Linked DNA regions of Homo sapiens: regions 1, 3 and 4 are each linked to region 2. Evidence: promoter capture Hi-C in 16 types of primary human blood cells and fetal thymus (Javierre and others, 2016). All regions are on one chromosome and are shown on one strand. Each heading gives the region's core, a stretch centred on a gene start or on the middle of the fragment in contact. The rest is flanking DNA. Distances are from core to core; before and after follow the strand shown.

Region 1 (2,813 bases), core at 283-2,782, 200 kb after region 2:
ACTTTGTGTACGTGTGGTTCAGGCCAACACGCAGAATTTTATACCCCTCAAAATGCATTCCTCCACAGAAGCCTGGCAACTTTAAATGCTCTAGTAAATGTTAGGTGATTTATAATACAGTTTTAAAGAATTCAGCAAGATTACCATTCTATTGTGAAATAAGGGCTGACAGTGTGGTCAGTAAATGTGTTAACTTTTCATTTGGGTTGGTATGTCTCTCCTTTGCAAATCCATTCATCTGCCGAAATGCATATGAGAAGCATTGCTTTTGCCAATGAAGGATTGCAGTTAGGATTTTTTTTTTTTTTTACTTCCTTTTCCCGTGCCCCTTCTTAATTACTAAGAAGGTTAACAGCACACACTTCAGGGTCACTGATGTTGTGTTGTGTTCTGTTTTTGTTTTTCCTGTAGCCAAAGAAATGCTGTATTATTGCTCAAGTCTGTTTTGTGTTGTTGATTGAAGGGCTGAGAGAGTGCCCGTTTCTTTTTCTTTCAAGATACCACTAAGTGATTTCCTTTCAGGGTTCTAGAAAATGTGTCACCCTGACAAAAATTGCCTTCCCATGCTAGTAGCCTTAAGCTTCTACTTCTTAATTCCTTACATGGCCATTTCCTAAATGGTTAGAGTTATTTGGAACACCTTAAAATTAAAAAGCTTTCATTGCCACCCACTCCACCACTCAGACTGCCAGTGATATGAAATTCACCTGAACCCTTTACAGTTGGTGACAATTGTTTTAGGAAAATATATGTGATAAGATGCTGCAGGTCCTCATACCAGTGTCAACTCAGAATGTCGTTCACATTTCTTCTGAGAGTCTCCAATTGGCCACATTACTGAGAGCTTTGTCATAATGCTTTAAGTCATTTATCAGCTGAGGTCACTTTGACTTTTGAGATTCTAATAAAATTGGCTTGAACTTTTATCTTATACCCTGTGGGAATTCCAATGAGCATTTCTGGAGGCTTTGTTTTCGTGGTGGATTTTTGTTAGAGAACTCTTGATATTCCTTGTTTCCGTTGCTTTTCTCTCTTCTCTCAGAGTTAGAAATTAGCTTCTTTCCACAATTTCCTTCCACACAGCTCACACAGACCGTGGAAGTTTAGGGAGTTGGAGGAAGTTTGCATCAGAGAAATTTGGAAGGATGTTTAACAGCCTGTTTGTTTGTTGGTTTGTTTGTTTGTTTGTTTGTTTGTTTTGCTGAGACGGAGTCCCACTCTGTTGCCCAGATTGCAACGGGCGATCTCAGCTCACTGCAACCTCCACCTCTGGGGGTTCAAGCGATTCTCCTGCCTCAGCCTCCCACATAACTGGGACTACAGGCTTACACCACCATGCCTGGCTAATTTTTTTGTATTTTTAGTAGAGGCAGGGTTACACCACGTTGGCCAGGCTGGTCTGGGACTCCTGCCTCAGGTGATCCGCCCACCTCAGCCTCCCAAAGTGCTGGGATTACAGGCGTGAGCCACCGCGCCCGCCAGCCTTGTATGTTTGCACATACATAGTTGTCTCTGAAGAGCTTTCTCTATACATCATGACCTCCAAATTGCCTGACTTACCCTCTTTTATCTATCTTCTCACCTCTCATTCTTCTGGTTTCTGTTACCAACTCATGTTTCTTAAAAACGGCAATTTAGTTTTCTCTTTCTGTCTCACCATTTCCTTCCAAACCAGGTTCAAGGGGGCCTGGTCTTCCATGTTTCAAGCGATGTGTCAAGGATGAGCTGACTAGTAAAATGATCTTTTTAGTTAAGTACATGTGCACAGACACCCCTGCTTTTTCTCCCTCCACTCTCTCTCCCATAAATGTAGCAAAAACTGAAGCTACTTTGCATAGAAAAAGACATATTAAGGTTTTACCTATTTTGACTGGACCTGCCACCCTCTATTCTTTTCATGTATTTCCCTTTAATCAAATAGGTTGATTCAAAGTGCATGCCCTAAATACCAACATTTTCTCATTGATACTTATTTTCTGATACTAGACCAACAATGTCTGCCCTAAATCCTAGGGCCCAAAACCAAAATCTCAGCCTCACAGCATTTTATTGTTGCCATTGGTTATGCAGTCTTCCTTGTAAAGTTTGACACTTTATATGTCATTCTTTAATCGAGTCTTCTCTGATAATGAATTCTTCCCCTTCCCCTAGAAATTAAGGATGCCAAAGAAAGGGTAAAGTGGTGCTGTTTGATGCAGAGCTAGCGGAAAGCATTTGCTGTTAGAGAGCCACCTGGAGCTGGCCCATCTTCTCATGTCAGTTTACCATAATAATGTCAGCCAGCATGGGTATCTCATAATTAGATGAGGAACATCAGGCAGTTTCCTGATGGTGTTATCTTTCATAGTTTTCACAGTGATGTTCCTGACTTGGTGTTACAAAAACTCTGAAAAACATCTACCAAGCTTGAAGTGCACCCTTATTGGTTATTTTTCAAGTTCTCATACCCACACCTAAATATGTAAGATGTATTTCTCATCAGAACAGTGGCTCCCAAGGCCTGGGATCCCCAAACCCCAGGAGATGCCGTCAAAGGATTAGAAGATGCCATCCAAGGATTAGAAGATGCCGTCAAAGGATTAGAAGATGTTATCCTGGTGTTTTTCAGTATTTAAATTAGGATGAGTTTGATTGTACTCAACAGAAAGTCCAGTAAAGGCAGGCTTAAAGAGTGTCACTGGCAAGTCCTTAGTAGGTAGGCTGCAGGAGAGACTTGATCCAGCTCTCTGCTCTGCTTTTCATGGTGTTGGCTTATCTTCAGAGTGGCCCTATTTGCAGTCTTAAGATGATTCCTAGCAACTGTCAAGCTGTAG
Region 2 (2,700 bases), core at 28-2,527:
CAAAGAATTGGACAAAGCTTTTTGCACGTGACTGATCACTGGGAGAGCAGGTAATTTGTGTTAAACAACGGACTGACATGCTAGCCCCCAGGCGTTTTCCTAAGAGGAGTCGTGGCAAGAACACAGTTCCTGATGCAGCCACCTTCCCCCAAAGTGGACTCGATTGCACATTCCTGCAGTGGCTCTGACAAGGGGGCAGAAGCTCGTCCCACATTCACACTCTCCTGATTCCGAGAAACAGGGGAGAAAACCCCTCGCTGGCTGGCGGGGTTTCTGTTTCCTTGCAAACAGGGGTTTGTCCTTCTGCTGAACTTTCACCTCCCGAACTCGCCTTCTTTCATTGGACAAAGTGCAGAAAGAAAGAGGAGAGACCGAGGGAGGACGGGAGAGAGGGAGAAAGGGGGTTGAAAACACCACCTCCCACCCCGCTCTCCTTCAACTGTCACTGATGGCAAAACACTTTCACTTTTAACTGGAGGAAACTCACATTCTAGCCTGTCCTCTCCCCTCCCTTTCATATTTTTAGCTCAGAATCCAAGCAAATAGCCATCGCATTCCCATCTTCGTCCCTAGTTAACACTCTCCCTTCTCGTTTTTTCCGCTGTCTGAATGGGCCCCCCATTTCCCATCTCCTGAGGAATCTCCCCCTCCGCCCCCCTGCCCCTTATTTTCCAGGTCTTTCCTGCCAGATCCCTCTGTTGCCAGGGACTGCTCTGGCGTTCCCTTCCTCTCTCTGGTCCGCGGGGCTCTGCCTCCCTCTCCTCTTTCCAATCCTGCCTGGACGCCCCTCACTTCCCCCTCCCTGGATCCCTCCCCCCAACCCCCCCCCCCATTCTTTGGCAATTGCGATTTTTTTTTTCTGGGAGCCCGGTTGTTTACCCAGCAGGTGGATGTGACGTCAGGGACGCACAACAGCAAAAAATAACAACATCTCCCTCCGCGACGTGTTGGCCTCTCTCGCGCGCCTTATTTATTTATTTGTTCCGGGATGTCGGGGGGGAGGGGGGAGGGAGGAGGGGGGTGGGCGCCAGCGCCCCGGCGAACGGCAAAGAGGGAGCCGCTCCCGCTCGGGGGGCCGCTGGAGTGCCCAGCGGGGTGCGTGAAGCGGAGAGGGGACCCCTGCGGGAGGTAGAGGGTCGGGCCGGGGTGCGCCCCCGGGCCGGTGCTGCCCGCGCCTCTGCCGCCGCCGCCGCCGCCACCGGCGCTGGCTGGGCTCCGGGAAGCTAGTCCGGAGCGGAGGAATCTATTGTTATTTATTGTGTGGCGGTTGCACGCTGTACTCGCGGCGGCCCGGCCCTCGCCCGGGAGTGCGTGTGTGCGCGCGTGTGTGCGCGAGTGAGTGTGTGCGCGGGGTGCGCGCGCGGGCGGGAGTGGGCGCGCGCGGGGAAAGGCCCGAAAACACCTTAGTTTGCACCGAGAGACCATTTGCAGCGGGTGAGTTTGTATTTTTCCATTTCTGCTCCACTTTTTCCCAAGCCGCCTCCTGTCTTGTTTCCGCCACTTTAAACAACAACAACAACCAGCACAAAAAAAAAAAAAGAAAGAAAGAAAAAGAGAAAAAAAATGGAAAAAAAAAAACAACTACTTTCCACCTCCAGGCTCCACGTGCATCTCCCCCAGCCCTCCCCTCTCTTCCTCTCCCCCCCGGGTCGAGGCCCAGCTCTGGGATGGGTGGGGGCTGCGGGCCGGCGCGCGGGTGGAGGGAGCTCCGGCGGCGCCCGCACCCTTTGGGTTTATTTGCATAAGTCAAATGGGGGCGGGGGCGGTGGCGACTGTGAGGAGGCGAGATCGCCTGCCCGTAGGCCCCTTCACGCCTCTCTCTGCGCTCTCCACGATCGCCTAGGGGAGAGAAATCAATAAGCCCAGGCCGCCTGGCGCAACTTTCGATGTCCGGCGTTGGCGTCCGGTGGCCGCCCGGGCGCGGGGCCGGTGCGGGGTCCCGGGTCCTGGCCGCGGCGGGAGGGGGCGCGCGCCGGGCGCCTCCTAGGCCCAAAGTTTAGACTTGGAGCAAACTTTTCCCCTTCTTTCCCCGCGGGTGTGTGCCCCCTCGGTGCCCTTGAGCTGCCCCGCGGGCCCCAGCAAACTGACTGTGGTGCCTGGCCCTGGGCCCCGCACTGGGGAACTTCCCCGCTGCCACGCGCGCGTTACCCCGAGAGTCAGCGGCGAGGAAGCTCTCCCGCCACCCCCTCGGAGCCCGGAAAATTCAAACACGCACCTGCGCACCCCCAGCCAGACACGCACCCCTACGCGCGCTCGGCCTCCGCTTTCCCGAGACGAGTCCGCAACAGCCGTGGCCAGATCCACGGGTGGGTGCGGGAGCCGGATGCGCTGCGAGGAGTCGCCGCGCCCGGATCTCTCTCCCACCATCACACACATTTTCTGATTTTACCCCCCTCTGAAGCTTGGGGGACGGGGAGATTTCCCAAGCTCCGATTTGTCCTGCGTCGCGCGCGTGTCGCCTCGTCCCTCCGGCCCTGTCCTGGCGGCCGATGGCTCTCCGTCCCTCGCTTGCGCGCAGCCTTCCTCCCGAGCTCCCTGCGCTCTATTCCTGTCCCGCCGAGACGACTCCCTGGAGCCAGCGAGCCGAGGCGGCGTGCGCTTCGAGTGGGGACCACGGCGGTGGCGGCGGCGCCGGGAGCCGAGGAGTTTGCCAGTTGCCGCGGGGTCGCGGTCATTTGCTGCCTCCGCCTTCCCTCGCCC
Region 3 (2,825 bases), core at 314-2,813, 240 kb after region 2:
TGGCATTCATCACATTATCTTTCACTAGGAATATACATAAAATCTTGGAATTTTCTTTTAAGGCTTGGAAATTATAGCTGATTTAATACCTTGATTATACAAATATGATGGATGCATTGCATTTTTATTTAAGCATAATTTAGTGTAGTGGCACATGGTTATATTCCAATTCTGACCACAGTGGCCTCTGATGTTGGAGTTACTTATAGAAGTGAAACTTGACTGTGTTGGGGCAGAATTAGTGGGCTACATTAGGCTGGCTTTGTTTTATAGCTGAAGGCATTGATGGTTATTAAATAGACTGCGGCCTCTGTAGTCCGGTCTCTTGTCTAATGGTTCATCATCACTTAAGGGAAGTTGGGGTATCAAAAACTTGCTTGCTTCTTCCATGTTCATCTCTGCCTACCTTCTTTACTTTCTTAGCACACATAACAGTTAGCATTGTGGAAGGTGAACAGACAAACACAGAGTAATTTTCCAGACTTGGTGAATCCTAAAACCTGTGTTAATTACCCCTCAAGATTCTGTCTAGTATCAATAACATTCAAATGATAGCACCTCCCCCTTTACTCCCTCCTCTGCTCGACACACACACCTGCATGTGTGACTTATACACACATGCATATGCGTGTGCACACACATACACACCTGCATGTGTGACTTATACACACATGCATATGCGTGCGCGCGCGCACGCACACACACACACACACACACACACACGCACACACACACACACTGAACACAGCAACTGGCACCTGGGAGGTGTTTAATAGGTATTTGTTGAAGACTAGTGGGTGGAAAAGATGAAACACCAACAGCCTCCCACTCCAAGCTTCTAAGCTGCTCTTAGCCTGGTCCAACATCTGGGACCCTGTTTGATATTACAACTGTTGGAATAAATGGAGTTCATGAATTTAGTATTTATTCTTTCAATAAGCTTACTGAAGTCTGGCCTTTATGAATTGCTGTGTTCTAGTTCTACGGGAAATAGATAAATCAAAGAGAGAAAATACAGTAGTTTCCCCTTATCCATGGTTTCACTTTCTGTGATTTCAGTTACCAGCAGTCAATGATGGTCTGAAAATAAGTGAGTACAGTACAAGAAAATAGTTAGAGAGAGAGAGACCACATTCACATAACTTCTATTACAGTATTGTTAAAATTGTCCTATGTTATTTGTTATCATTAATCTCTTACTGTGCCTAATTTATAAATTAAACTTTTTCATAGGTGTACATGTATAGGAATACACATCATATGTATAGGGTTCAGTACTAATCATGGTTTTGGGCATCCACCGGGGCTCTTGGACTGTATCCCTGTGTATAATGAGGGACAACTCTGTTTTTTTTTTTTGTGAGACAGAGTTTTGCTCTTGTTGCTGAGCCGGAGTTCGGTGGCACGATCTCTGCTCACTGCAACCTCCGCCTCCCATGTTCAAGCGATTCTCTTGCCTCAGCCCTCCGAGTAGCTGGAATTACAGGCATGGGTCACCACGCCTGGCTAATTTTGTATTTTTAGTAGAGACGGGGTTTCTCTATGTTGGTCAGGCTGGTCTCGAACCCCCGACCTCAGGTGATCCACCCACCTCGGCTTCCCAAAGTGCTGGGATTACAGGCATGAACCACCTCCCCCAGCCGACTCTGTTCTTTACATTCAGCAAACTCAGTATCTTGTTGATTGATGATATTGACATGACCCTAGGCCAGAAATAGTAAACCTTAGTTCTTCAGTTTTATTCAGTGCTAGCATGTAGTTTATGCAAAACCAGCTTTTCTAAATCTAGAAGGCTCTGGCTCTGCTGATATTGATGGTAGAGGCAGAAGTTTGTTTAAGTCAGAATGGAAGTGGAGGTTTTTATGAATTTGATTATTTTATCTTAATTAGGAACATTTAATAATAATTATGGGTGACTTTCATTTTGGAGCAGGTATGGCTGGTTGTTCAAAGGTAAAGTGATGTTTTGAGCTGTAATTTGACGGATCTGAATGACAGTCAGCCTGAATAATTCAGCTTCCTACTAGCTTCCCTACCACCCCATTCCTTCTTAAAGAAAGAACCAAATAAGGAATTTTTTAAAACCCAAACCATTCTGGATTCTATTAATTCTTATAGTTACTTTCAAAGGAGCAGTTTGAGAGAAAGATGCGGTCTGGGACATTTATATGTGAGGTAAAGCTTTCAACCCATTAGAACATTAATTTTTTTGAGATGGAGTCTTGCTCTGTTGCCAGGCTGGAGTGCAATGGTGGTGCGATCTTGGCTAACTGCAACCTCCATGTCCCGGGTTCAAGTGATTCTCCTGCCTCAGCCTCCCTGAGGCAGGTGCGTGCCACCACGCCCAGCTAATTTTTGTAATTTTAGTAGAGACGGGTTTCACCATGTTAGCCAGGATAGTCTCTATCTCTTGACCTCATGATCCACCCGCCTCGGCCTCATTAATTTTTTTTAATGGGGCTTTAGTTGCCTAAATAATATGTGTATTATATAAAGTCTTGCTAATAGAGCAAGAGAACCCTCTGGAAAAAAAACTGCCTAAGGAATGAGATAAGAACTGAAGTCTGCTTGGGTTTTCAAGCATCCCTTGAGATGGAAAAGTCTTACCCCGCATCCGTGGTCCTCAAGAAGCCATAAAGGCAACATTAGGAAACTTTCTCGATTAGGTGCTTCCTTAGTGAATAGGTCTGTGGATAGAAGCAAGCAGACTTATTATAAGGTTGGATACTATACTATTACTGTGTGGTTGTATTAATTAAATTTATTCCTTTAAAATAACCTTGGATGAAAACAACCACCTCTTCTGTGGTCATGGTTAGCAGATG
Region 4 (2,760 bases), core at 52-2,551, 150 kb after region 2:
CAAAAGATCCAAGAAGACCAAGCAGGTACAAAATGATCAGGGTGTTCTAACCATTAGAATCATTCAAATTATTTTGTCTGTCTTAAAGCTCAGACTCTGGTATATCCTTGGAAACATTGCAAAGAATAGTTCCTCAGCCAAATCATGGGGCTTTTTTTTTTAATTTTTTTTTTTTTTTTTTTTAACATGTTCACATTTCCTGTCAGTGTTAAGTGTCGAACTGCTTTGAAGGCTTGACTTAGGAGCTCCACACTTAAGCCTGAAAATGAATGTAAATGCTGTAAATGCTGAGTTCTGCTTCTTTGGATGGGGGGGATAGGGTGCTTGGGGATGGGGTGAAGCGATCATGAGTAGCGCTGGTGATCTGATCCCAGGATTCTGGTGCTGCAGGCGCCCAGGGTGTTAGGCCCAAACCCTTTGAAGCCACAACTGAGACACTGGAGCCAGCCCAGGCCCTGCCCTATGTTAGGTGGGGCGTAGCCTAGGGGACCTGGTGGAATAGGAGCAGATTATTAGACTGGGAGGGACAGGAAAAGGAAGCGTCCAAAGGGAGAGAAGAATGAGGGTCATTGGGCCAGGGCCCGGGAGGGGTGCGTCAATTGTGCTTTGAATGTAGGGAGGGGTGCAAGGTCAGAAGCTGGTTCAGGGGTGGTGAGGCAGGGAAGGGGAAGGGGAAAATGCTCTGTGCAGGGCCGGGGAGGAGATGGAAAAATCAACTCGATGGGTGCAGGAAAGTAGCAAAAGGGAATATTCTGCGTCTGTGCTGGGCTGCCGTTCCCGGCCACGACAAGGTCAGCCGTGAGAAGTCTATGCACACCACAGTCGTCAGTGGTTGATCTCTGCATATCTCAATCCATCCTAGTTGCTTAGTGCTCTGTGGGAATGGAAGTTCTTGAGGACACTGATGTCAGCGTCTGCTTTCTCTAAAGAGTGCTCCTGGCACATTGTTTGGCCCTTAAGAAATTCTTGCCATAAATAGGTTTTCAAAGACTAGCAGCCTTAAGGGATCCTGCAGCTTGGTCATAGGTTCTCTCTGCTTCTCTGATGGTTCAGATGCAACACAGAATGACACCCAGGGGCAACACGGCAACAGGAATTGCACATATGATGGTGTTTAAATTTAGTCTTTTTAAAAAAATCACTCTATAGCTTTGGTTTTCCATAGACACTACACAATGAAGTCAGAATAAATACCTGGAAAGAAAAATAAAGTCAGGAAAAAGCCAGGAGGCCTGGATTCTGAATTTGACCCAAGGTCATCGGGTGACTTGGAAAAGTTAGTCTCCATTCGTCTTTGGTGTGTTTTGTTGCCTGTGAAATGAGTTTGCAGGTAGGAGTTCTGAAGTTTCTATTAACTTTAGCAAATACCTTTGGAAATATGTTTAGTTGTAGTAAGTATTCAAACCAGGCAATGGGGCTGTGTGGGACCAGATGGACCAGGGTTTGAATCTCTGCTTCGCCACTTACTTGGTTCGCGACCCTGGAAAATTACCAGATCTCTTGGACCCTCAGGTTTTCTATCTGTAAATTGGGCAAAAGTCATGGTAAGAATTGAGTGCCTGAAGCTCGTAGCTTAGCTAAGTGCCTAGCATGGTATGAGCACTGAGTCATCCAGGCCAGCTCTTATTAGGAGTATTCACTGGAGTGAAAAGTTAAGTCGCTGAGAAAACCACACAGGTACTTCCTGGGCAAGCATCTTCTCACACATTGCCACTTATTCTCGCACTCTGTCTATGGAGAATAAGGCTTCCTCATCCATGAAGCCTTCCCTGATTTCCTGCCCACCAACCAGAGAACGGCCACTGAACTCTGCTCCCATTGGAGATTTGTGATACTCCTCAAGAGTGGATTCCTTTTGTCTGTGCTGTCTTTGCATGGCTCATTTGCAGATCGACCTGCCTCCCTAGATTGCCTGAGCTTGCTGCATGCACGCAAGGGACATGTCCACCGGCTCATCTTCCACCACTCACCTCCCTGCCTGGTTCTGTCCACCATGCACCTTCTAAATGCTTTGTTGCAGTAAAATCAAAGTGGTGGGGTAGAATGTCTAGGAAAGTGTTTCATATAAATTGGAGGGGCCCATTGGTACAGGTGCCATATTTCCCGGTGGTTGTGGCTACTGCGTTGCTCTAAAGTCAGTGACCTGTAAGGCCTTCCCCTGTGGCCATTCTTGCCATAGAAACATGGGCCTGCCCCCCGCCGCCTCCCCTCCCCCAACAGCCCATGAGTTTGGGTGACAGACACCATAAGGCAGAGTTTAAGCCTCTTTTCCAACGTGGCAGAATGAGATGCTTTCTCTCTTTATTTTCCTAGAATCTGGGCAGGTAGTTTCCTCTTTTAGGGATAAGTCTGGGAGCTTGAAGTATAGAAGACCCTGAGATTGAAAATTTAAAATTCAATGTTGTTTTAAATCAAAGCAGGTTAAATAAGGAACCAAATAATTTCTAGAATAAATGGTAAAGAATGGACCCTACTGTAAGTGAAGTAACATGCGGATGACTCCTGTTTTTTTTTTTTCTTTCTTTCCTCTTGAACTTGGGATCCCTGCATATCACAGACAAGCATCAAAACCCAAGATTCAAATCTGTTACTGAATCCATTCCAGAAAAGTGGGGAAAAGCTACCAATTTGTCATCTGTTATAAAATTTCATAACCTTTCTTTTTCTGATATTTTGTACTATTATTCATTCGGCTTGCAATACTGCACCAGATTTGCGCCTGCTCATTTTACTGTGTGTGCATGGCTGTGGTCTTTATTT

Evidence for each region. Contacts are between HindIII fragments. The CHiCAGO score rates a contact against its expected background, and 5 or more counts as called.
Region 1: a fragment that was not itself captured here is called in contact with the fragment with the promoter of FOXP1 in region 2 in 1 of 17 cell types (naive B cells); the score reaches 5.1 in naive B cells.
Region 3: a contact is called between a fragment that was not itself captured here and the fragment with the promoter of FOXP1 in region 2, in 1 of 17 cell types (total B cells). The highest score is 6.5, in total B cells.
Region 4: a contact is called between a fragment that was not itself captured here and the fragment with the promoter of FOXP1 in region 2, in 1 of 17 cell types (neutrophils). The highest score is 5.1, in neutrophils.

The regions. Positions count from the first base shown.
Region 1 is chr3:71,382,604-71,385,416 of GRCh38, reverse strand. The region is part of intron 3 of FOXP1 (forkhead box P1); the gene reads left to right. Among named protein-coding and RNA genes, the nearest start is that of FOXP1-AS1, 94 kb to the right of the region's middle. The HindIII fragment of the contact is 1,750 bases long and covers 658-2,407 here.
Region 2 is chr3:71,582,305-71,585,004 of GRCh38, reverse strand. It overlaps FOXP1 (forkhead box P1), which reads left to right and starts at 1,277. Exons shown (of 21, transcript NM_001349338.3): 1 at 1,277-1,434. It overlaps FOXP1-DT (FOXP1 divergent transcript), which reads right to left and starts at 62. Exons shown (of 1, transcript NR_182289.1): 1 at 1-62. RefSeq lists an enhancer at 793-1,087 and a silencer at 1,165-1,404. The HindIII fragment of the contact is 2,384 bases long and covers 20-2,403 here.
Region 3 is chr3:71,346,421-71,349,245 of GRCh38, reverse strand. All of the region lies in intron 4 of FOXP1 (forkhead box P1), which reads left to right. It overlaps LOC124906248 (a long non-coding RNA gene), which reads right to left. Exons shown (of 4, transcript XR_007095957.1): 2 at 2,608-2,687. Among named protein-coding and RNA genes, the nearest start is that of FOXP1-AS1, 58 kb to the right of the region's middle. The HindIII fragment of the contact is 1,241 bases long and covers 943-2,183 here.
Region 4 is chr3:71,430,270-71,433,029 of GRCh38, reverse strand. All of the region lies in intron 3 of FOXP1 (forkhead box P1), which reads left to right. Among named protein-coding and RNA genes, the nearest start is that of MIR1284, 110 kb to the left of the region's middle. The HindIII fragment of the contact is 4,303 bases long and covers 1-2,760 here.